Linked DNA regions of Homo sapiens: all the other regions are linked to region 2. The links are contacts of gene promoters, found by promoter capture Hi-C in blood cells and fetal thymus (Javierre and others, 2016). All regions are on one chromosome and are shown on one strand. Each heading gives the region's core, a stretch centred on a gene start or on the middle of the fragment in contact. The rest is flanking DNA. Distances are from core to core; before and after follow the strand shown. Region 1 overlaps AP3M1 (adaptor related protein complex 3 subunit mu 1). Region 2 holds the start of KAT6B (lysine acetyltransferase 6B). Region 3 overlaps ADK (adenosine kinase). Region 4 overlaps ADK (adenosine kinase). Region 5 overlaps ADK (adenosine kinase). Region 6 overlaps ADK (adenosine kinase). Region 7 overlaps ADK (adenosine kinase).

The links. Contacts are between HindIII fragments. The CHiCAGO score rates a contact against its expected background, and 5 or more counts as called.
Region 1: a fragment that was not itself captured here is called in contact with the fragment with the promoter of KAT6B in region 2 in 1 of 17 cell types (neutrophils); the score reaches 5.4 in neutrophils.
Region 3: a fragment that was not itself captured here is called in contact with the fragment with the promoter of KAT6B in region 2 in 1 of 17 cell types (total CD4 T cells); the score reaches 5.6 in total CD4 T cells.
Region 4: a fragment that was not itself captured here is called in contact with the fragment with the promoter of KAT6B in region 2 in 2 of 17 cell types (non-activated CD4 T cells and neutrophils); the score reaches 5.2 in non-activated CD4 T cells.
Region 5: a contact is called between a fragment that was not itself captured here and the fragment with the promoter of KAT6B in region 2, in 5 of 17 cell types (naive CD8 T cells, total CD4 T cells, naive CD4 T cells and 2 more). The highest score is 5.7, in naive CD8 T cells.
Region 6: a contact is called between a fragment that was not itself captured here and the fragment with the promoter of KAT6B in region 2, in 5 of 17 cell types (fetal thymus, megakaryocytes, total CD4 T cells and 2 more). The highest score is 7.5, in fetal thymus.
Region 7: a contact is called between a fragment that was not itself captured here and the fragment with the promoter of KAT6B in region 2, in 1 of 17 cell types (neutrophils). The highest score is 7.4, in neutrophils.

Annotation. Positions count from the first base shown.
Region 1 is chr10:74,134,833-74,138,408 of GRCh38, forward strand. It overlaps AP3M1 (adaptor related protein complex 3 subunit mu 1), which reads right to left. Exons shown (of 9, transcript NM_012095.6): 2 at 3,275-3,550; 3 at 1,800-1,971. The coding sequence starts at 3,547. Among named protein-coding and RNA genes, the nearest start is that of AP3M1, 14 kb to the right of the region's middle. The HindIII fragment of the contact is 1,372 bases long and covers 1,240-2,611 here.
Region 2 is chr10:74,825,144-74,828,378 of GRCh38, forward strand. KAT6B (lysine acetyltransferase 6B) reads left to right here and starts at 1,457. Exons shown (of 18, transcript NM_012330.4): 1 at 1,457-1,642. RefSeq lists enhancers at 1-535, 536-1,307 and silencers at 143-312, 423-522, 633-832, 1,523-1,922. The HindIII fragment of the contact is 8,590 bases long and covers 1-3,235 here.
Region 3 is chr10:74,304,815-74,307,883 of GRCh38, forward strand. The region is part of intron 3 of ADK (adenosine kinase); the gene reads left to right. Among named protein-coding and RNA genes, the nearest start is that of ADK, 160 kb to the left of the region's middle. The HindIII fragment of the contact is 4,855 bases long and covers 1-3,069 here.
Region 4 is chr10:74,198,256-74,201,540 of GRCh38, forward strand. It overlaps ADK (adenosine kinase), which reads left to right. Exons shown (of 11, transcript NM_006721.4): 2 at 2,509-2,583. Among named protein-coding and RNA genes, the nearest start is that of ADK, 49 kb to the left of the region's middle. The HindIII fragment of the contact is 5,555 bases long and covers 1-3,285 here.
Region 5 is chr10:74,224,361-74,227,485 of GRCh38, forward strand. It overlaps ADK (adenosine kinase), which reads left to right. Exons shown (of 11, transcript NM_006721.4): 3 at 178-231. Among named protein-coding and RNA genes, the nearest start is that of ADK, 75 kb to the left of the region's middle. The HindIII fragment of the contact is 3,053 bases long and covers 1-2,811 here.
Region 6 is chr10:74,243,957-74,247,120 of GRCh38, forward strand. All of the region lies in intron 3 of ADK (adenosine kinase), which reads left to right. LOC124902456 (a long non-coding RNA gene) reads left to right here. Exons shown (of 2, transcript XR_007062198.1): 2 at 1-3,164. Among named protein-coding and RNA genes, the nearest start is that of ADK, 94 kb to the left of the region's middle. The HindIII fragment of the contact is 5,243 bases long and covers 1-3,164 here.
Region 7 is chr10:74,172,574-74,176,094 of GRCh38, forward strand. All of the region lies in intron 1 of ADK (adenosine kinase), which reads left to right. Among named protein-coding and RNA genes, the nearest start is that of ADK, 23 kb to the left of the region's middle. RefSeq lists an enhancer at 3,229-3,521. The HindIII fragment of the contact is 9,334 bases long and covers 1-3,521 here.

The DNA.
Region 1 (3,576 bases), core at 676-3,175, 690 kb before region 2:
CAGAGAAGTGGTTTAAAGAAAAACACCTGTCTTCTTACTAACAAAATATATCTACCATTAACATTTTTGTTAATATTATGGTATTAACATTTTAATATAATATTAACATTTTGGTATATTTCTTTGAATATTTCCACCACCAGAAGGTTGCATTTTTTTCTATTTTGATAATTTTGGTTTTTAATTGCACTTTAAAATATAGTCGCAATCATACTGTATCTACAATTTTGCAGTCTACTTATGATTGGTGTTCCTACCTGCAACCTATAATCATGTTATCTTCCTGCTCAAAAACGTTCAATGTTTGCTCACTGGCTTTATGATAAAAGCTAAATATTTATCCTAGCTTTGAAGGACTTTCTCTACTTTTTAATTTGATCTCTAACTTCTCAAGTGAAAAACAGTTCTGCTTCTGCTAAAGGGATTAATAAAACTTTAGGTTTTTCTCTTTCATGTGTGTTTTTTTCTCATACAGTTCCACCATGGAGAATGCTCTTATTCCTTCCTCACTTCCTGAATTCTACTGATTTTCCAAGGTGGCCACCCACCACAGTTCAGGAGGGATTACTTCATTAATGGAACCATTCTCTTGAACTTTGTAATACACTATCTAATGAATCTGTTATGTTTTGCATTATATATTTTAGTAACTTTTCTCTGACTATAAAATACATGTTTATTTTGGAAAATTAGAAAGTATAAAGCAAAAATAAATATAATCTGTATTTAGCTGGGTATAATCATTGTAAATACTTTTTTGTCGGAGTGAATATTTATATATAAGAATAATTTTTTTCAGTTTTGTGCTGACTTTTCAATTTAACGTTACATCATGTGTATTTATTTTCCAATGCTATTACTTTATCTGTGAAGTATGGAATTGCTTTTTAAAGTCTTATACAGTTATTTACTTAATTTTTTTTCCAATGTCCCATTCAGAGTATAAGTTTTAGGAGTACAGACACACCATCTTATCTTTCTTTGAATTTCTCCTAACATTCGTCCTTACACAAAGGATGAATAAAGAGCTGCTGAATGATCTTTTTCTTATAGGCCTCTCTCACCTCATTTTTAGGTCAAGGCACTGGACAGGGGTTTACAATGGTTGACAGTGGAGTTGGAGTGGCATATAACATTTCATAGGAATCTTTGTCTAAAAGACTTTAATGCTTTCGAAAGAATATTGGTATCTGGATGTGCCTAATTTCTAGCTACACTCAAGAATTAAACCCAGCTGGAAGCTTACAACACAAGTACAGGCCCACAATGCATGAGATCTCATAAGTAAACTATTTCCTATTTTTTCTTAATACATCTTCTGAATGCATAAAAACAAAGACTTGGAGGAGATTGTAGTACTGTGTGGTTAAGCGTCTTAAATTTTCTATTCTCTAGTAATTGTGGAGTAGCAGCATACCAGTTATGTAATGCTATTTTAAATATTAAAATGCCAGTCTATAAATGGACTAAATTCTCTTCTAAGTGGGCTCATATACTGGCTTCTTTAGGAATAACTGGAACAATTTATTCAGTCTTAGTATTTAGTGTTAAATAATGGTAATAATATTGTTGTGGTGTTTTAGAAAAAAAAAAAGAGTAATAACCAAAAGTTCTTTATCACTTAAGGTCTAGCCTCTTTCCATGAAAATAAATATATAGTACATCCATTTTAACTTTACCAGTAACTTTAATTATGGCCAAATTGTACTACCTTAATAATATGTCAGATCATGAGCAATAATGAGTTGTTTACAAAGTTTTAATTGCTCAGTTACTAGCACAGTATGTTTTCATCTTACCTGTAATAGAGTTGACAACAGAGCGTAGAATTGTTGGTGGTTTAATCAATTCTTTCAAAATGTTAGATTCGGTAGCCAGTGGAAATCCATTGTCTAACATTTCTTCTAAGAGTTCATATACTATGACCACATTATCCTTAATTGCAGCCTCTGAACACTCACCAAAGTAGTCCTGACAAAATACACACAAAATATCACACAATGGAAGGCAAAAAGAAAGGCCTGCTAAATACTTTTTGTTCTGAAGAATAAACTTAGAGTAGCATAATTCATTGCTTAAGCTGCTGAACATATATAAAACAGAGCGGGGGAAAAAACCCTCTATAGTCCGGGCATGGTGGCCCATGCCTGTAATCCCAGCAATTTGGGAGGCTGAGGCGGATGCATCACTTGAGGTCAGGAATTCAAGACCAGCCTGGCCAACATGGTGAAACCCTGTCTCTACTAAAAATACAAAAATTAGCTGAGTGTGATGGTGCACACCTGTGGTCCCAGCTACTTGGGAGGCTGAGGCGGGAGGATTGCTTGAACCCGGGAGGCGGAGGTTGCGGTGAGCCAAGATCATGCTACTGCACTCCAGCCTAGGGAACAGAGTGAGACTCCGTCTCAAACAAAACAAAACAAAACAAAACAAAACAAGCAAACAAAAAAAACCCCTCTATAGTCCTAATATTATTCCTCAATATTTTCTTGATATTTCTAGGTTGAATTTAATTCCTATTACATATTATACCAGAAAGTATTGAAACATTAAATTGGAATTTGAGCTATAAACTTCATTCACCCTGATTATCCCAAAATACATATAGATAAGCTTAAATTATTTGGTATATTCCGCAAGACAAAATAATAAAATGTAAATATAGAAGAGTTCATAACCAATGAAAATCTTGAGACCATTGAGAGAACTGTATGCGGAGGGCATTATTGTTTCCTGATGATATACAGTCATCCCTTGGTATTTGTGGGAATTAGTTCCAGGATCCCCTGTAGATACCAAAGTTCACAATTCTCAAGTCGCTGACATAAAATGGCATAGTATTTGCACATAACTTATACACATCCTCCTATATACTTTAAATCACCTCTAGATTACTTGTAATATCTAACACAGTGTAAATGCTATGTAACTATTTGTTATACTGTATTGTTCAAGTAATAATGAGAAGAAGTTTGTACATGTTCAGTTCGATTTTTTTGTTCAAATATTTGCCATGTAAGGTTGGGTGACTTTATGGATGCAGAACCCATGTATATGGAGAGCCAACTGTAATCTGTAATACATATAAAAAATAGTGAATAGAGCAGCCATGTGTGTAACTGTATACCACACAGAAAAGGGCTTATGAATTTACGCTTAAACAGAGAGAGACAGACAGTAAACATCAAAACCTGGGTAATTAAATAATATAATCATGTCTCACCTTCAGCTAACTTGGGTCATTTAACTTAGAAAGGTATGATAGATAACCAACCTGAAAAGTGTCAGCAACTCGATGTAGGAACTCAATTACAAAGAGAGGTGGCACTTCGGTCTGTATGACAGATACAAAGAAGAGCTTATCCCGGTAGATACTGATGAGGTAGTGGTGAGGTGTTGAAATGACAGGTGGTACATTTTCAACATCAGCAGCTTTCTCTTGAGCTTCAAAGAAATAATCACAGACAGACTGGCTCACAACGCTCTTCCAGTGCTTCTCTAGAAATATGTCACCGGAACAGTTTATGAGAAATAGACTGTGGATCATTTTCTGTTGGGGCAAAGAAAGGTTTAAAT
Region 2 (3,235 bases), core at 207-2,706:
CGCGATCGCCCGAAGGCGCAAAGCCTGGGCGAAGGACGAAGTTTGGGGCCCACAGCGACGGGAGTGGGGACGCGTTGGCGAGGACCGCACCTCAGTCCCAGCCCTGGCGGGCACACTCCCCGCCCCAAACGGCCCAGGCGTCCCCATCCTCCCGCGGACACCAGCGTCTCCGCCCTCCCCCGAGGGCGGCGAGAGGAGCCCCCCGGGGCGGAGGCAGGTACCCCCGGGGCGGAGACTGGGGCGGGCGGGGTCCGGGCTGCGCCCCCGGCCAGGCCGGGCGGGCTGGCGGGCGGCGCGGGGGGAGCGGGGCTGGGCGGCGCTGCCTCGGGCTCTGTGCGCTGCAGCCCGGAGCCGAGGAGGAGGAGGCGGAGGAGGAGAAGGAGGCGGCGGCGGTGGGTCCCGGGCGGGGGGAGCGCGGCGCTGCGGACCCGGGCGGCTGGCAAAGGACGAGGCGGAGGCTGAGGAAGGCAGCGGGGAGACCCAGGCTGCAGCAACAAAGGGCAGCGAGCGATTGGCCGGGCTGCAGGCGAGGTTAGCCGGGGACCCGGGTGGCCGGAGGCAGCGGCGAGCGGTGCACGTGCTTGCAGACACGGGCGAGTGTGGAGCCGGGGGGTGCACGCCCGGTGGGTAGGGGCTTGCTCCCCCGAGGCATGGGATGGCGAGGAGGCTGCAGCGACATCGTTCTGCCTGCACCCGGCCTGGGGCTGGCAGGGTAGGGGTGTGTTGGGGGGGGAAGGATGCGAGCCAGGGGGCGGGCGAGTAGTCGCCCGGGACGGGACGGGACGGGAGAGAGGGTGGAGGAGGGGGCGGGATGGAACGCTCCGGGCGGCGCGCCCGTCCGCACACTCCACCGAAGGAGCTGGCGACTGAGAACCTCGAATTTTAACTTCGCGTGCCCGCCCGCGCGCGCCCGCCCGCGCCCACCCCTAAATCCTGCGGCCGCCGCCAGCGATCAGCTCTCACACAAACTTTAGCTGCGGGCTAGGGGGTTTGGGGTTGAGTGGGGGAGGGGAGAGGGAAAAGGCCTCCTGATTGGCGTCGTCTGCAGCCAATAAGGCTACGCTCCTCTGCTGCGAGTAGACCCAATCCTTTCCTAGAGGTGGAGGGGGCGGGTAGGTGGAAGTAGAGGTGGCGCGGTATCTAGGAGAGAGAAAAAGGGCTGGACCAATAGGTGCCCGGAAGAGGCGGACCCAGCGGTCTGTTGATTGGTATTGGCAGTGGACCCTCCCCCGGGGTGGTGCCGGAGGGGGGGATGATGGGTCGAGGGGTGTGTTTATGTGGAAGCGAGATGACCGGCAGGAACCTGCCCCAATGGGCTGCAGAGTGGTTAGTGAGTGGGTGACAGACAGACCCGTAGGCCAACGGGTGGCCTTAAGTGTCTTTGGTCTCCTCCAATGGAGCAGCGGCGGGGCGGGACCGCGACTCGGGTTTAATGAGACTCCATTGGGCTGTAATCAGTGTCATGTCGGATTCATGTCAACGACAACAACAGGGGGACACAAAATGGCGGCGGCTTAGCTCCTACCCCTGGCGGCGGCGGCAGCGGTGGCGGAGGCGACGGCACCTCCTCCAGGCGGCAGCCGCAGTTTCTCAGGCAGCGGCAGCGCCCCCGGCAGGCGCGGTGGCGGTGGCGCGCAGCCAGGTCTGTCACCCACCCCGCGCGTTCCCAGGGGGAGGAGACTGGGCGGGAGGGGGGAACAGACGGGGGGGGATTCAGGGGCTTGCGACGCCCCTCCCACAGGCCTCTGCGCGAGGGTCACCGCGGGGCCGCTCGGGGTCAGGCTGCCCCTGAGCGTGACGGTAGGGGGCGGGGGAAAGGGGAGGAGGGACAGGCCCCGCCCCTCGGCAGGGCTCTAGGGCAAGGGGGCGGGGCTCGAGGGCGGAGGGGGGCGGGGCGGGATCGGGTGGGGGCGGGGTTCGGGGAGTCGGAAGGCGGGGGCTGAGAGGGAATTTCTGAGTGGGAGTGAACTGGTAGGAGCGGTGGGGGGCCGGCGAGGGTGTGAGGAAGACTAGTGAGGGTTGGGTGGGAGGAGAAGCTGAAGGTGTAGAAGCAGGTGCAGAGGGAGAGTTAGGGAGGGATGCAATTTGAGAGAAGTGGAAGGCGGACCGAGGGGTGTGTGAGGGCAGGTGAGATGATACCGAAGGCGAGATTGCAGTTGTCTGGGCGCAGAGTAGGTGGGTTTGGGTGTGGTGGATGTGGAGTAGAGTTGAAGCGGTGCAGAGTGTTGGGTTTGGGGAGGCGTTGAGGGGTTTGGGGAGGCATTGAGGCGCATGTGAGGAGCAGGTACGATTGCAGTGATGGGAAAGAGGTATCTGGGTGGATCGCATGTTGGAATAAGAAGGAGGTTTGCTAGCTTTGGGGTATGAAGTATTTTTTAAAAACGTGGAAGGATGGGATGGTTGTGCTTGGGAGAGTTTCTGAAAGATGATGCTAAGACAGCAGAGCAAACTTAAATATGAAGGAAGGGGAGAGAGGCTGCTTAGAACTTGCAAAATCTGTGGCAGAAAATCTCCTGGGGACAAGGGATTGGTAGGGGTGGGACAAGGCGGCAGGTGTGAAGAAAGTGGGTGGAGCTGTACAGTAATTTTCGGTGAATGTGATTTGGTGGACTGTGCCAGGGGTGAGGATGGGGCAGAGAAAGGTGTTAGTTTGGGAGACAAGTTGTTTGATAGGCTGTATTTATTATTTTTTATAAAAATGAGAAAAGGGTCTCACTATGTTGCCCAGGCTGGTCTCGAACTCCTGGCCTCAAGTGATCTGCCCACCTCTGCCTGACTGATGGGATTACAGACGTGAGCTATGGCGACCCGTGATACGCTGGATTCATTATGTTAAACTTGATCTGGAGTCTTCAAGGGAGTGTCCGGCAGCAGGGTATCCCAGGAAGAGACATGCACCATACCTTGGGATAGGACATTTTGCATAGCTTTGAATTTGCTAGTACTTTGCTGTGGGCAGAGTGCAGGGAGTGGTAGGAGATGACCAGGCAAAGGCAGAGGAGGGGTTAGATTACAAATGGTGTCCTATGCCCCATGAAGGAGTTTAAGCCCTGTAATTGGTAGAAGGTGTTGGGACGTGTTAAAGAGAGTGTTAGACAGAAGTTGTGAAGGGGTAGTGATAAAGAATTACAGATGTGGGAAATAGGAAATGAAGACCAACGAACCAAGTATGTTTGGGGTTGGAGGTACCAAGGAAATTCAGGGTAGAGCATATGAGGGCCCCTCCTATATGGAC
Region 3 (3,069 bases), core at 2-2,501, 520 kb before region 2:
GTGTACCCATTATTCATCAGGCACTATGCTTAAATATCGTGGAACACAAAAAGAAATAGTCTTTAATGCTGTGTTTTACAAATGAGGAAACCTAATCTCGGAGAACTTAAATTACAGTTGTCCTTTGGTATTCATGGGGGATTGGTTCCGGGAACTTCCTCAGATACCAAAATCCAAGGATTCTCAAGTCCCTGATATAAAATTCTGTGGTATTTGTATATAACATATGCATATCCTCCCATGTACTTTAATTTCTAGATTACTTATAATACCTAATATAATGTAAATGCTGTGTAAGTAGTTGTTATACTCTCTTGTTTAGGGAATAATGTCAAGGAAAAACACTCTTTACATGTTCAGTACATATTTTTCCAAATATTTTCAATCTGTGGTTGGTTGAATCCATGGATGTGGAACATACGGATATGGAGGGCCAGCCGTACTTGCCCCATGTCATATAATTAGATGAATATAGAATTAAAGCCAGGTCCGTCTGACAGAGCGTTTGCTTCTAACCATTGAGGAATGTTGCCTACCCTGATGACTCTACTATAGGAAATCATATATTGATATCAAATTGATCTTATATGTCTGTAGTGAGGAACTTGGCCATGTTGGACCTATCCCCTTCCCTCCTTGCTCCTCTCCTTTCTTCCTCCCTTACCCCCACAGCTTCACCCCTCCCTTAGCTCTTTTTTCTGACAGGTGGCTGTTTCCATCCCTGTTTGCTGGCACCTTCTCCACTTAAATTTTGGTATATCCCTTGGTTCCACTCTCTGTGTTCTTCTCTTGTGTATGAGTGTGGATTTTGTGTTTGCTTATCCTGTGTGGAGTTTCTGAGCTTGAATCTGTTAAGAGTATGTCATTAATCAAATTTGGAAATTTTTAAGCCATTTTTTTTTCTTTCTTTCCTTTCCTTTTCCTTTTTTAGAAGCAGGTTCTTGCTTTGTGGTTCAGGCTGCAGTGCAGTGGCACAATCTCAGTTCACTACAGCATCAAACTCTTGGACTGAAGTGATCGTCCTGCCTCAACCTCCTGAGTAGCTGGGACTACAGGCATGCATCACTATGCCTGGCTATTTTTATTTTTTTGTAGAAGTAGGGTCTCACTATGTTGCCCAGGCTGGTTTCAAACTCGTGGGTTCAAGCAGTCCTCCTGCTTTGGCCTCCCAAAATGCTGAGATTATAGTTGTGAGCCACCATGCCTGGTCAAGCCATTATTTTTTCAATTTTTTTTTTTCTGCACCGCACTTCTTTTCTTCTGTTACTCATGCACAAATTTAGATCTTTTAGTATTGTCCTATAGGTCTGAGTCTTTTTTCATTTTTTAAAAAAATCCTTTTTCTGTCCTGCAGATTGGAAAATTTTTATTGATTTATTTTTAAGTATACTGATTAACAGTCTTCTTCATTTTACTATTAAGCCCATCTAGTTAGTTTTAAATTTCTAGTTATTGAATTTTTAAATTCTAATATTTTTATTTTATCTTCTTTATCTTCTGTTTCTTTGCTGAGTCTTTTCACTTTTTCTAGCTGTCTGAAGAGTCCTAGTAGTTTGTGGTTCCCTGGAGCTCTCCGCCTTGGTAATCCAGCCAGAGAACTGGGGCTTTATTTTCTCAGCTCTGCACATACTTCCTGTGACTGTAACCATGTCTGGGTCTAAGTAGTAGGCAGATACTCTTCTCTTGCTTTTTTCTTTCTTGTGTTTTAGTCAAATTATTTTACCTCTTATTATAACTTTGTTTATTATTATTTACCAACACTTTATATGCAAATTGTAGATTATTCAGATTGTATCTTCTACCAGAGTGTTCACTCTTTTCTGTATGAGGCTGATACGGAGTGAGGGGAGAGCTTATTACCTTAATAAAAATTAAGGGTTAAGCTAGGTCAAAGTTGATTTTTCAGTGTTGACAGTTCAGTTGAGCCTGTTTGCTTCTGTTCCTAGAGCCTGAACCTCTAGGACTTTTAATTGATACCAGTGGTCTCCGCTCTGAAACAGTCCACCAGAATGAGGGTACCAAACTGACCTCAGAGGTTTCCAGGTTAATGCAGAGGTTTCTAGCTTAATTTCTTTCTGCCTTCAAAATTTGGCAATTATGTCAAAGGGGAAAATGATCTTTTGTTTTAGGTTTTCAGTTTCCAATGTTACTACTTCAGCCTTATGTAATTGCTAAAATCCCTACTGTTTTCCCCCTATTGCCCCCTTCCTTATCATTATCTTCTGCTAAGCACAAAGTGTGAATTTTCAGGTTCCACATGTAACCAGTATAAGTATATCCTTCCCCCCAAACCCCAGTGGAAATGTGCCACGGATCCTTATTTTTATTCTCCACTCCTTCTAGGGCTTTCATTTCTTGCCTATTATGTTTTTAGTTGCTCTTTTCTTGTTCTGTCTTTGTAAGCACAGCTAGAGTCAGAGAACTTTCTGCTTTTGGAACTATTTTGGTTAACCTCTTTAACTTAGCATTCAGTTTCAGAATTCAGCAAATGTGTTTTGGGGCAAACTAGCTGTGTGTTTTAGGTTTGGGAAATGTCAAATTTTGTTTCTCTGTCTTCATGCTTCTGGCTGCAAATGTTGGCAGGTGGAACAAAAAGCTGCCAGTTCTGGCCTGCCCCTGTGAACAGGTCTCACCTCTCCGGAAATTTATCCACTTTGTCCTTGTTGCTTCAGAGCTCTTTGGTACCATTAACAATGTGACTTATGATTTATATGGCCTTCCTAGGTGTCATCAGTAGGAATGTTGGCTGTGATGCAGTATATGCTACCCAGAATCGGAAGTTCCATATATTATGTTTTGATAAGAGATTTTAGGTGTTTGAGTATTTCTGATGAGTGACATTTTTTGAAGTTTGCTAGAGAGAAATAATTAGCTAGTTATTGCTTAACTACTCTCTCTCCATATCTATTACATATGTTTCTGGAATATTTCTATGGTCAGAGAAACTCAGGCCCATTATAAACCATGGACTCTGGTAGAAATAGAAGCTGAAAGCAAACCAGTAAGGGAGGTGGAGTGTATAATTTGTGTTTTGGAAGTACCTGCCGGTGGACTTGGGGGTGATGCTCT
Region 4 (3,285 bases), core at 151-2,650, 630 kb before region 2:
AAAATACTTTTTTATTAGACTTGCTTTGATCACATATGCAATTTAAGTGTGAATAAGTAAGTGTATTATCTTTCCCTCCTCCACTCAGCTTTCTTTAAATAGAAAAGGGACAAATATCTCTTTATTGCATATTCAGCCATAGTTGCTCAATCTATGGTGTTAATAAGAGACTGTAATTTTATCTTCTAAAAATCATTACAGATTATAATTATAGGCTGTACCTCATTCTCTTAAAGAAATATTGGCATGTTAGTCCATTGATATTACTGATAGTTGCCAAATGGTGAGAATGGTAACTGGTTTGGAGGCAACTGAAAGGGAGGGGGAATCATCAGTAAACTGGAGACCAATAAAAAATTACACAGAAACAAATCTTTTTGGATAAACTAGATGAATGTCTCTTATTGAGACTGATCCAACAGTATTCACTGGCCCATTTCTTGCTGCTAGATGAGCTTCTGTTTAAGGCATCACTTGTGGTGGAGTTCTTTCTTTTATTTGGATTGGAACCATACTGTGATCTCTTATGGAAAACAGACTTCCTCCAAGTCTGTTAAATATAATTTAAAATTATATCGTTTCTTGTTGATTTGTTTGTTTTTGTTTTGCTTTATTTCATGTTATAGGCATCTGAAATGAATCCTTATATATATAACATACAAGTATATGTATGAGAAGACATGAATATAAGAAGTATAGGAAACATAAGACATGAATAAAAGTTTTAGCTAGACATTTTTAGATGAAAAGATGTGCATTTAAATTTGTAAAAGTTACAAATCGTTCTATAAAAAGTTAGCATATATTTAAATTTTTTGGATACATAATAAGAGAATTATATCACTTCTGATATCCATTGTGAAGACCCTACCACAGTCATTTTTTTGTGAAGGGTAGATAGGGCTCTTGCTTGTACTCTTCCAGGATGTGCCACGGGCTCCCTAATAACATTCAGGGGAGTGCATGTGCAGGTTTGTTACATGGGTATATCATATGATACTGAAGTTTGGTTTTGTAATGATCCCCATCGTCTAAGTAGTGAACATAGTAACCAATAGGTAGTTTTTGAGCCCTTGCTTTCCTGTCTCCCTCCCTGATTTTGGAATCTCCAGTGTCTTTTGTCCCGACATCTTTGTGTCTCTGCGTACCCAGTGTTTAGCTTCCACTTATAAGTGAAAACATGTGATATTTGGCTTTCTGTTTCTATGTTAATTCACTTAGGATAATTCAGCTGCATCCATATTGCTGTAAAGGACATGATTTCGTTCTTTTTTTATGGCTGCATAGTATTCCATGGTGTATATGTATTGAATTTTCTTTATCCATTCTACCATTGATGGGCACCTAAGTTGATTCCATGTCTTTGCTATTGTGAAGAGTGCTGTAATAAACATATCCCTTTTTGGTAGAATGATTCATTTTTTTTCATTTTTTTTATTTTTTAGGCAGAGTCTCGCTCTGTCGCCCAGGCTGGAGCGCAGTGGCACGATCTCGACTCACTGCAACCTCCACCTCCTGGGTTCAAGTGATTCTCCTGCATCAGCCTCCTGAGTAGCTGGGACTACAGGTGCTCGCCACTACACCTGGCTAATTTTTGTATTTTTTATACAGATGGGGTTTCACCTTGTTGGTCAGGATGGTCTTGATCTGCTGACCTCATGATCCACCCACCTCGGCCTCCCAAAGTGCTGGGATTACAGGTGTGAACCACCGTGCCCAGCCTAGAATGATTCATTTTTCTTTGGGTATATACCCATAATGAGATTGCTGGGTCGGATGGTAATTATATTTTAAGTTTTTTGAGAGATCTTTAAACTTCTTTTCACAGGGGCTAACCTAATTTGCATTCCCATCAGCAGTTTATAAGTATTACCTTTTCTCTGCAACCTTGACACCATCTGTTTTTTTTTTTTTTTTTTTTTGACTCTTTAGTAATAGTTATTCTGGGCTGGGCACAGTGGCTCACACCTGTAATCCCAGCATTTTGGGAGGCTAAGGCAGGTGGATGTGCTGAGGTCAGGAGTTCGAGACCAGCCTGGCCAACATGGTGAAACCCCATCTCTACTAAAAATACAAAAATTAGCCAGGCATGGTGGCAGGCACCTTTAATCCCAGCTACTCAGGAGGCTGAGGCAGGAGAATCACTTGAACCTGGGAGGTGGAGGTTGCAGTGAGCTGAGATTGCACCATTGCACTCCGGCCTGGGCGACAAGAGCGAAACTCCGTGTCCAAAAAAAAAAAAAAAAAATAGGTATTCTCATTGGTGTGAGATGGTGTCTCATTGTAGTTTTGATTTGCATCTTTCTCTGATAATCATCTTTTTTTCTAAATGTCTTTATGCTACCTCTAAAATGTTCTACGTATAATAGGCAAATCAAATGTTTAATAAACTGGTGTGTTAGGTTTATTTTCAGGTTGAAATGAAGATAGTTATTTTTATTTTGTGTACCTTTTACATATCAACTTACTTTTAGAAGTATTTCTAACTTGTGTTTTGTGTTTTTTTAGAGAAAATATTCTCTTTGGAATGGGAAATCCTCTGCTTGACATCTCTGCTGTAGTGGACAAAGATTTCCTTGATAAGTAAGTATTAAACTCTTCATATGCACTATGTGGAACTTACATTTGAAGAAGAATGGATGAAAACTTTAGAAGTGAATTTACCACCGAATGTCTTCAATTAAAGGAAAACTCAGGAAATTTAAGTTTGGTGATAGCAAGTGTGCTATCATTAACTATTGAATAACTGAGTACAGTTTTCCTTGGGAAAACTTATATACATTGCTATTTTTACTTAAAACTTTTTTGCTTATTATTTGGAAGGAGAAAAGTTTATATAATTTACCTAATTATTTAATTCCCCAACTTTTAAACTACTGTCAGTGAGCTACGTCTATAATGGTATCATAATCTACAGACATTCTACCCCGAATGTGCCCAGTCTGGTTTCCTCTCAGAAGCTATAATGGGAGAAGAAAGATGATTAGAGAAGACAAGAGAACGTGCAGGATATAATTCAGAGGATATGAAGCTCTGCTGTTTCCGCTTTATTAGTAACTTCCAATGTTTCAACTTAGCTGAGAAATCAGTTTGTTTATTTACCTAAGTATTTGAGGCCATTTCGTACAATAGTCCCCACTTGTGTCCTTGTTTTCAGTTTCTGAGGTCTCAGTTACCCATAGGACAGTGTAATAAGACATTTTGAGAGAGAGACATGCACCACGTCCACATAACTTTTATTACAGTATATTTTAATAGTTGTTCTATTTTTAGTTAGTTGTTGTT
Region 5 (3,125 bases), core at 35-2,534, 600 kb before region 2:
TGTTCCTGGAAATGACTAATAGAACAGCAAAAAACCGTCTACTTGGGCATTCTTGGTGTTTTATCAATTAAGTCAGAGACCTATAACAGTGTTGGAGTGCTTGTTTTGAAGAGGTCAGCTAACTTACGTTGACACTGTGTGTGTATGAAGAGTGTAATTTTCGTTTCTGTTATACAGGTATTCTCTGAAACCAAATGACCAAATCTTGGCTGAAGACAAACACAAGGAACTGTAAGTGCATTAAACCATTGGTTGTAAATAGTTTACTCTGTCTATGAACTTGATATATGTATATGTAAATTATCTGATTTTCAAAATTATATAATGACAAAGTATAATTAACACTATGACCTTAATCCTAACAATTATGATAACCTACACTATATAATTTACACTACATAAAGTTTACACAGGACATAATTTCTCCTGTATTCACATTAAAAGATGTAGTGTTGTATTCCATCATCTAGACTAAAGTCTTACTGGGAAATATGTCATGCTATTTTCTCTTTCCAGATAAAATATTAAATTGTTCCTATTTTCTTTCTGACTGCTCTACCAGAAAAAAGTAAAAAATAAAAATAAATTGTCACTCTTAATTTTTGGGTCTTACTCCGGTGGATCACCCACCTTCATGGTAATGATAGACAAATATAATTTTGTTTCTGTCACTGGTTTATGCAAAAGTAAATGTCAATTGTTTGGTACAAGGTAAAACACTTTATTTTATTTTTATTTTTTTGAAACAGAGTCTTGTTCTGCTGCCCAGGCTGGAGGCGCAATCTCGGCTCATTGCAACCTCTCATTCCTGGGTTCAAGCAATTCCCCTGCCTTAGCCTCCCAGGTAGCTGGGATTACAGGTGCCCGCCACCATGCCTGGCTAAATTTTGTATTTTAAGTAGAGATGGGGTTTTGCCATGTTGGCCAGGCTGGTCTCAGACTCCTGACCTCAGGTGATCTGCCTGCCTTGGCCTCCCAAAGTGCTGGGATTACAGGTGTGAGCCACTATGCCTGGCTGAAGACATTTTATTTTCACATCTAACTCAGGTCGCTCTTGGTTTAGTTTAATGTAACCTTCACTTGTACTCATTTATAGGGACAGTAATTTTTTTTCGTAGAGGACTTCAAGACTATTATTTTCTTCTTGAGATTAAGTAATAATTTTTTTCCAAGTACTTTTAAACTGCTTTTTAAAAACTGTCTTGAACCTTTTGTAAATTATTTTCTTCTCTCCTATTTAAGGTAACATAAATTGTTAATTATAAAATGGCAGGACCAATGTTCAGGGAAAGGATTTTCTTATGCGTTCTTACCGTTTACACATTCCACTATTATGCTAACCTTTCATCAGTATTTTTATATTTGGCCTATCCTTATTTGAGTATAATCTCCATAGTGGGTTCTCAAATATATATATTGTCAAGAAATTTTTTTGCTCTTTCTTTATTTCCTAGTATAGTCAGTGAGGGCCGGTGATTGTTACTGTAGCATTGGTTGGTTATTATTTATAGGTCTGGTAACAGAGCTTCTTTTGCTTTGGGAATTAAGTAGTTGGTGAGCCTTAAAAGTTCCTTTAGTCCTTAGACTATGACCAATATTAAAAATACCAGAAATCTGCTTTTAAAGAATATGTTATTTAATATGTAACCCATTTTAATGTTTTAATTCATTTGAAAGTTTTTTTAACTGTCCAAGATATAATTCATCTCTATGGGTATAACTTGGCGAACTGATACTTTTTTCTTACCTTTTTTTTTGTTTTTTTGAGACAGACTCTTGCTCCGTCACCTAGGCTGGAGTGTGGTGGCATGATCTTGGCTCACTGCAACCTCTGCTTCCTGGGTTCAAGCGATTCTCCTGCCTCAGCGTCCTGAGTAGCAGGGATTACAGGCACCCGCCACCATGCCCAGCTAATTTTTATATTTTAGTAGAGATGGGGTTTCGCCATGTTGGCCAGGCTGGTCTTGAATTCCTGACCTCAAGCGATCCACCCACCTCAGCCTCCCAAAGTGCTGGGATTATCACAGGCTTGAGCCACCGTGCCCAGCCCCTACATTTTATTACGAAAAGTTTTAAACATATGTTATGTGTTCACCCATATATTTACCACCAAGGTTTTATCATTAACATATTACTGCACTTGTTTTATCTATTTATTCTTCTGTTCGTGCATTACTTCATCTGTTTTTTGGATGCATTTCGAAGTAAATTGTAGACATCAATATGCTTCTCTCTAAATATTTCAACACATATACCATTAACTAGAGTTTTATATTTCAAAGTTTTTTTTTTTTAGTTTCACCTGTTCTAAAATTTCTTATAAACTGAGTCATATATATGTCCTATTTTGTATAAGGCTTCTGTCACTCCCTGTGTTTTTGAAATTCATCAGTGTTGTTGCATATATCAGTTAATTCCTTTTCATTTTTGCAGATTAACATTCTGTTGTTTATTTGTTCTATTATTGCTAAGTATTGCCACTTGTTTGATTTGTCATTATTGATGGTCTTGATATTTTTGGCTGCTGGCTCTCTTCCTTGTAGTTTTTGACCTACATACCAAAGAAAACTTTCAGTTGAATATGGCACCATAAAAGCAGAGTATTAATTTTAAAAAATTAAAACAGTTATTGAATTAATGAATTTCATGAATTATGAAAGCTGTTTATAAATAATCTCATTTGTGTCTTTGCAACTCAAATAGCCAAAATCTTGGTAGGGTGGTGGTCATGGAAGTCAGAGTCTGCTAAGGAGTGTATAACAACTCACCTGCTGTATTAAAAACAAAAAAATCTTTTTGTGTTCAAGACTAAGCTTTAAACAATATAAGAGATATGGATATAAAACAAAATTTTATCTAATCAGTAATTCCATGCTTTATTCTCATAAAACATTATTACAACTTCTTAATTTCAGTCTGTTAAAGCTTGATTAATTATAAAATTGTAAAAATGTGTTGGCACCATCACATTGACCTGCTCTTTGAAAATTAACCCTAATTCTATAAGAGTACCAATAAGAGAGTACAGTGATAGCTCTAATTATCTTGATATTAATAAATAAAGAGTGGCCTGGCATGGTGGTTCACATGTGTAATCCCAACACTTTGAGAGGCTGAGGTGGAAG
Region 6 (3,164 bases), core at 39-2,538, 580 kb before region 2:
ATATAAAGAATGTAAATTTTTTTGTATTAAAAATCGACACCTTAAAAAAAAACTAATACCACCACAAGGTTAAGCTCTGAGGAGATTTCAGCTTTACAATAATTACATTGTTACAATAATGTTTAACTTCTCAATAATTAAAAACCAAAGCAATGTTGCAACCTTGGTTCAATATTCAAATATATTTTTCTTGGTAACCAAGCTACTTCACTATTTATAGTACTTTATAAATGATTTAGAATTGTTATGCAGTTTTTTCAAAGAAGTATTCATAAGGTAAATTTAGAAAATTATTTTAAAACGAAAGTGATGCCCACCAGATGGTGCTATTTCGCCTGTTTTATCTGCGACAATAAGTAGGAAAAATGAATATAGAACTTCAAAAAAGTGTATGGAAGATCTAGAATATTTGGGCATTGTATTTTGGGTGTAGATGAGCTCAGTGGAAGGAAGCATTCAAATATTCTAAACTTGTGTTTAGTACTGTATGTTTATCTTGATAAAGGTAAAGATGAATTCCCAGAGTTAATATGCCAGATAACCTTTTATTTAGTCTAAATGTTAAGTAGATTTTTTGAAAAGTTGACCTATATGCAAATTTTATTAACTTCATAGCTGTATATGCATGAAAAATGAAATTATTTATTAGATATGTGTTACCAAAATTTGTTTCAAGATTTCTTTATATTGTTAAGTAAACAATATTACTATCTCATTTGAGTTACATTGTGATTTACAAATTAAGGGAAACATTTTGATTTTTTTATGTGTTTGTAATTATTACCCAGAAACTTAGGCTTGAATTCACTATTTTTACAAAGGAAAGAGATGACTCTTCTAAATTAATTTTTGTATTAGGAAGAGGGCAAACTATGTGGTACAGTGTTCACTTAGATGCAGCCATTGAATGACGATCCATTAGAGTCAAAATGGTTAGTTAGCTAATGAAATACACTTTTCAGTAAAGCTGGAAAGATTTAGCCAGCTCTTAAAAGTGTTTCTAGGATTTTAATGTAGTCTTTTTCCCGCTGATTTTATTATCACTCTGTATTCTTCTCTGGTCATGAGATTGAACCATAAAAGTCATGTAGATGCTTGTTATAAGTATTTGCCAAAGTCATCATTGTCAGTGATTTTATTGGCATGTGTGAAATTAGAGATTAAACTTGCTTTTAAATCTTGCATTTGAATTTTTCTTCTGGAAGGGTACATGTATAACTTTCAATTTAATGTTCAATTATTGGTAACAGAATGAAGCATCTCTCTATAGGCCAGTAAATATATATAGTAGATTTTATTGTATTCCTGTACTGTTTTTGAATGAATATTTTACTAATTATATTAACATAATCCTCATACATACCCTTAAGATTAGGACCTACTATAATGCTTTATTTGAACTTGTTTCATAGCATTTGTCTTTTTTAACTTTGGATTATAGTTTTGGAATATAAATCAGATCCCTCCTACAAAAACATAAAGTTCTTCATGCTTTCTCTCATTCCACTTATCACAATACTTTACATGTAGTAGATGACCCTATATATTTTTTATATAAATGAATAGTTTTGTCATGCCAAGTATTGATATTAGTATTAGTGACAACAAGTATTCCTCATTCCATAGTTTTTGTTTTTGTTTTTTTTTTTTTTGAGACAGAGTCTTACTCTGTCACCCAGGGTGGAGTGCAGTGGCAGAATTTCAGCTCACTGCAATGTCTGCCTCCCAGGTTCAAGCAATTCTCCTGTGTCAGCCTTCTTAGTAGCTGGGATTACAGGCATGCACCATCACGCCTGGCTAATTTTTGTAATTTTAGTAGAGATGGGGTTTCACCATATTGGTCAGGCTGGTCTTGAACTCCTGACCTCAGGTGATCCACTCACCTCAGCCTCCCAAAGTGGGATTACAGGCATAAGCTACTGCACCTGGTCTCTGTTCTACAGTTTTTTATCTTATGCTTTTCTGAAATGACTTTTTATAGTTGGGTTTAAAAGGATCATCTCATTGGAATCTCATATCACAGTTATGATGCATTCTGTCATGATGAGGATAAGTGTATATTCAGGTTAAAAAAAATCAAAATATTATTGTCAGCCTGCATCAGTATTAGAGATTGTCTGGTCCAGGAGTTCTCAGATTGTGATTCAAGGGCCTCTTGTGGGAGGGGGGGGTCAGGGGTCCTTAAGACCTTGACAGAAGTTCTGTGAGGGCAGAACTATATTCAAAGTAATACTAAGACTGTGTTTACCCTTTTCATTCTCATTCTCTCATGAGCATAGGTGGAGTTTTCTAGAGGTTGCATACCATGCCATACTGATTGAATGTACAAGTTATATGAAACTCTAGCAGTTCTGTCAAAAGACAAAGTTACAACAAATTTAGTTTAAAGATCTCAGTCAGCTTTATTGTGATTCTAGAATCAGGCAATACTTCATTCCATAAAGTAGAGTGTGTGTTCTAATGAGTTGAGCAGATGGTTGGTTTTATAGACAGAAAGGGCTGAAGAAAGCAGATTGGTCATTTCAAAGTGAATTCTCTTGTAAGGTCTGGATGGGGAGACAGGACAATAGAAAGACTGGTTAATATCAGGTTACTTCAGATTAGGGATTAAAACAGAGGAAACTTCATTATCATGCCCATTGAATACTTCATTATCATGTGCATTGAATATTGAAAATTGTCCTGTTTGGGATATTAGGCTGTTATCTGTCTCTCCTGATTTTTTAGAAAGTCAAGATAACAACTCAGTTTGGGTTTGGTGAGCATGGGTGACTCCATTTTGATTTTTAGTCTGGTCTTCTTTTGGAGCCTAGTGTAGGAGTTTTGTTCAAAACAGTGGCCTATAATTTTGGCTTCATAAGCCAGACATTAAAGAGATTTGCAAAGATTATAAAACAGTGCTTCTCTTGTCACTAAGATGTTTTTTAGTTTGGAAATAGTTATTTTCATAAAATGTTACATTAACATTTAATGAATTTATTCTTAAAATAATAAATATTTAAAAAAGTTATATTTTAACTTCTAATATGATAACTAGGGCTAGATATTAAAGCTCCTTGAATTACTCGATACTCTTTTTAAAGTGTAAAGTGGTCCTGAGATGAAAGTGTCTGAGAACTTATGATCCTAATTCTTTATCCTCATTTCATAGATGAGAATACTAT
Region 7 (3,521 bases), core at 105-2,604, 650 kb before region 2:
AGCTGCTAGGGAGGTTGAGGCAGGAGAATTACTTGAACCTGGGAGGCAGAGGTTGCAGTGAGCCGAGATCGCGCCATTGCACCCCAGCCTGGGCAACAAGAGTGAAACTCCATCTCAAAAAAAAAAAAAAAAAAAAAGCGGATCACGAGGTCAGGATATCAAGACCATCCTGGCCAACATGGTGAAACCCCATCTCTACTAAAATACAAAAAATTTGCCAGGCCTGGTGGCGCACGCCTAGGGGATTGCTTGAACCCGGGAGGCAGAGGTTGCAGTGAGCCAAGAGTGCACCACTGCCCTCCAGCTTGGTGACAGAGTGGGACTCCATGTCAAAAAAAAAAAAAAAACGGTTAGATGCAAATATCAAAAATGAGTTAAAAAATATCTTTGGTGTGGCTTCAATTTTATTAACTATTTTAATATTGCAGACCCATATCTTCCCTTAATTATACTGAATTTAGTATATTTGTTAAAAAATAAAGTTTTAAGACTACCTGTTTTGGTATCAAAATTAGTTTTTTTTTTTTCTTTTTTTTTGAGATGGAGTCTTGCTCTGTCACCTAGGCTGGAGTGCAGTGGCATGATCTCTGCTCACTGCAAGCTCCACCTTGGGTTCACACCATTCTCCTGCCTCAGCCTCCCAAGTGGCTGGGACTACAGGCACCCGCCACCACGCCCGGCTAATTTTTTTTTTAATTTTTAGTAGAGATGGGGTTTCACTGTGTTAGCCAGGATGGTCTCGATCTCCTGACCTCGTGATCCACCCGCCTTGGCCTCCCAAAGTGCTGGGATTACAGGTGTGAGCCACTGCGCCCGGCTAGGTTTTTTCAAATTGAAAATTTTTTTTCTTTTTCTTTCTTTTTTTTTTTCTTTTGAGATGGAGTCTTGCTCTTGTTGCCCAGGCTGGAGTGCAGTGGAGCAATCTCAGCTCACTGCAACCTCTGCCTCCCAGGTTCAAGTGATTCTCCTGCCTCAGCCTCCCAAGTAGCTGGGACTATAGGTGTGTGCCACCGCGCCCAACTAATTCTTGTATTTTTAGTAAAGATGGGGTTTCACCATATTGGCCAGGCTGGTCTCGAACTCCTGACCTTGTGGTCCTCCTGCCTCAGCCTCCCAAAGTGCTGGGATTACAGGCGTGAGCCACTGTGCCTGGCTTTAATTTGAAAATTTTAATGTTACAAATCAAAGGTAGGTGTTACCAAAGTATGTTAAGCATGAGCAAAAGTGCATTTGATTGTTCAGAGGGCCAAGTTCATGTTAGCTTTGGGATCATGCCTCCAGAGATGTAAGTTTAACTATTATGATAATAACAAAGTAATAATTATGCCATGTGCCAAGGATTCTATTAGACTCTTTACTATAGTTAATTAAATTTTAATCTTCACAGTGCCCTGAACAGCATATAATGGGTAAACCGAGGGACAGACAGTTTAAGAACCAGTTTAAAGGCTGGGTGTGGTGGCTCATGCCTGTATTCCCAGCATTTTGGGAGGCTGAGGTGGGCGGATCACTTGAGGTCAGGAGTTCAAGCCCAGCCTGGCCAACACGGTGAAACCTTGTCTCTACTAAAAACACGAAAAAAAAATTAGCTAGGCATGGTGGTGCGTGCCTTTAGTCCCAGCTACTCGGGAGGCTGAGGTGGGAGAATTGCTTGAACCCCGGGGATGGGGGCGGAGGTTGCAGTGAACCGAGATCATGCTACTGCACTCCAGCCTGGGTGATAGACTGAGACTCCATCTCAAAAAAAAAAAAAAAAAAAAAAAAAGAACCAGCTTAAAGTCATACAGGTAATAGGAAGTCAAGCAGAAGTTGCAAACCAGATACCTTTTGCTACCTTTACAGGCTTGCTACTCAGCCTGGCCCACAGACCAGAAGCAATTAGTGAGACCTGGGAACATAAAGAAATGCAAAATTTTGGTCACTGATACCTGCAGTGCCAAACCTGCATTTTAACAAGATCCACGAGATTTGTATGCATGTTAAAGTTTGAAAAGCACTGATGGTGTGAAATGTGGATTATCTATCAACATTTTCCACAAGAGAAGGTGGGTAACTCTAGCCAGTGTCTCCACCACTGTGAATTGCTAATCCAGCTGCTGCTTTGCTTCAGATCCTGTTTAATCCAGAGGAACAATTGACTAATTCTGCTTGTGGACCTTCGGTCAAAGTCTTAACCACGCCAAGTATAGCTCAGTGTTTTAACAGCTTTTACTCATGGACTGAACACATCAGTTTTATAGACCATGGCTTCATTCTGGATAGGCATTTCCCAGGTTAAAGAGAACAGTGCTAAAAATAGCATTTTCTAAAGAAACTTGAAATCTTCTGGAATATTTGATGTGTTTTATGGCTAGCAAGAAAACAGATTTGTATAAACTGGCTTCCTTACTAATTTCATTTTGTGAACTTAATTATTCTATCACAGGGACAGTGATAGGTAAAGCTAACTTAGACTAGAGCAGCACTGTTCTGTAGAAATATAATGCAAGATTCCTGTAATTTTAAATTTTCTAGTAGCCACATTAAAAAAGGTAAAAAAGAGGCCAGGAGTGTTGGCTCACGCCTGGAAGGCTGAGGCGGGCAGATCGCTTGAGGCCAGGAGTTTGAGACCAGCCTGGCCAACATGGTGAAACTCCGTTTCTACCAAAAATACAAAAAAATTTAGCCAGGTACGGTGGCGCATGCCTGTAGTCCCAGCTACTCGGGAGCCTGAGGCACAAGAATCGCTTGAACCCAGGAGGCAGAGGTTGGAGATCGCACCACTGCACTCCAACCTGGGCGACAGAACAAGACTCCAGCTCAAAAAAAAAAAAAAAGTGAAATGTAGTCCAACTAAAACAATACAATTGTGTTTAGTGGAAAAATATATTGCTTCAGTTATAAAATTTAAATGAATTAAAATTAAATAAATTAAAAATTAAGTTCTTCAGTCCCATCAGCCACATTTCAATATCGGATGGTATTGGTTGCTTCTGATATAACTGATTTCAGACATATGAAATTGATCACCATCCTAGATGGTCAGTAAGTTAATGCCACAGGATATTGTAGTCTATTAATAACATTGTAGAACAGGGCCCAGTCGTTCACACCTATATTCCCAGTGCTTTGGGAGGCCAAGGTGGGAGGGTTGCTTGAGGCTAGGAGTTCAAGACCAGCCTGGGCAACATAGTGAGACCCTGTCTCTACAAAAATAAAAAAATGAAAATTAAAAAAATTATTGCACAGAGAATAAAGGAATAAAAGCAATTTGGATCATAAAGCATTTACTGATTCCCCCCTTTTCATAGTTGGAGTTAATTTTCCTTTTATTGGTTCACAATTTCTTAACTCTTCAACTGCATTAAACTGTAAGATTAGAGCCAGGAGTTAGGGTGCCATCCACTTTTCCCCTCTATGGTCTTAGATTCTTTTTTTTTTATAGCCCGCATGCTTCTTTGGAAAGTGAGGTAATTGTGTCAAATAGGATAGCCTTGAGTGGGGCCCAGAGGTTGTAAAATTTTATGTCTGTACCTGATTCA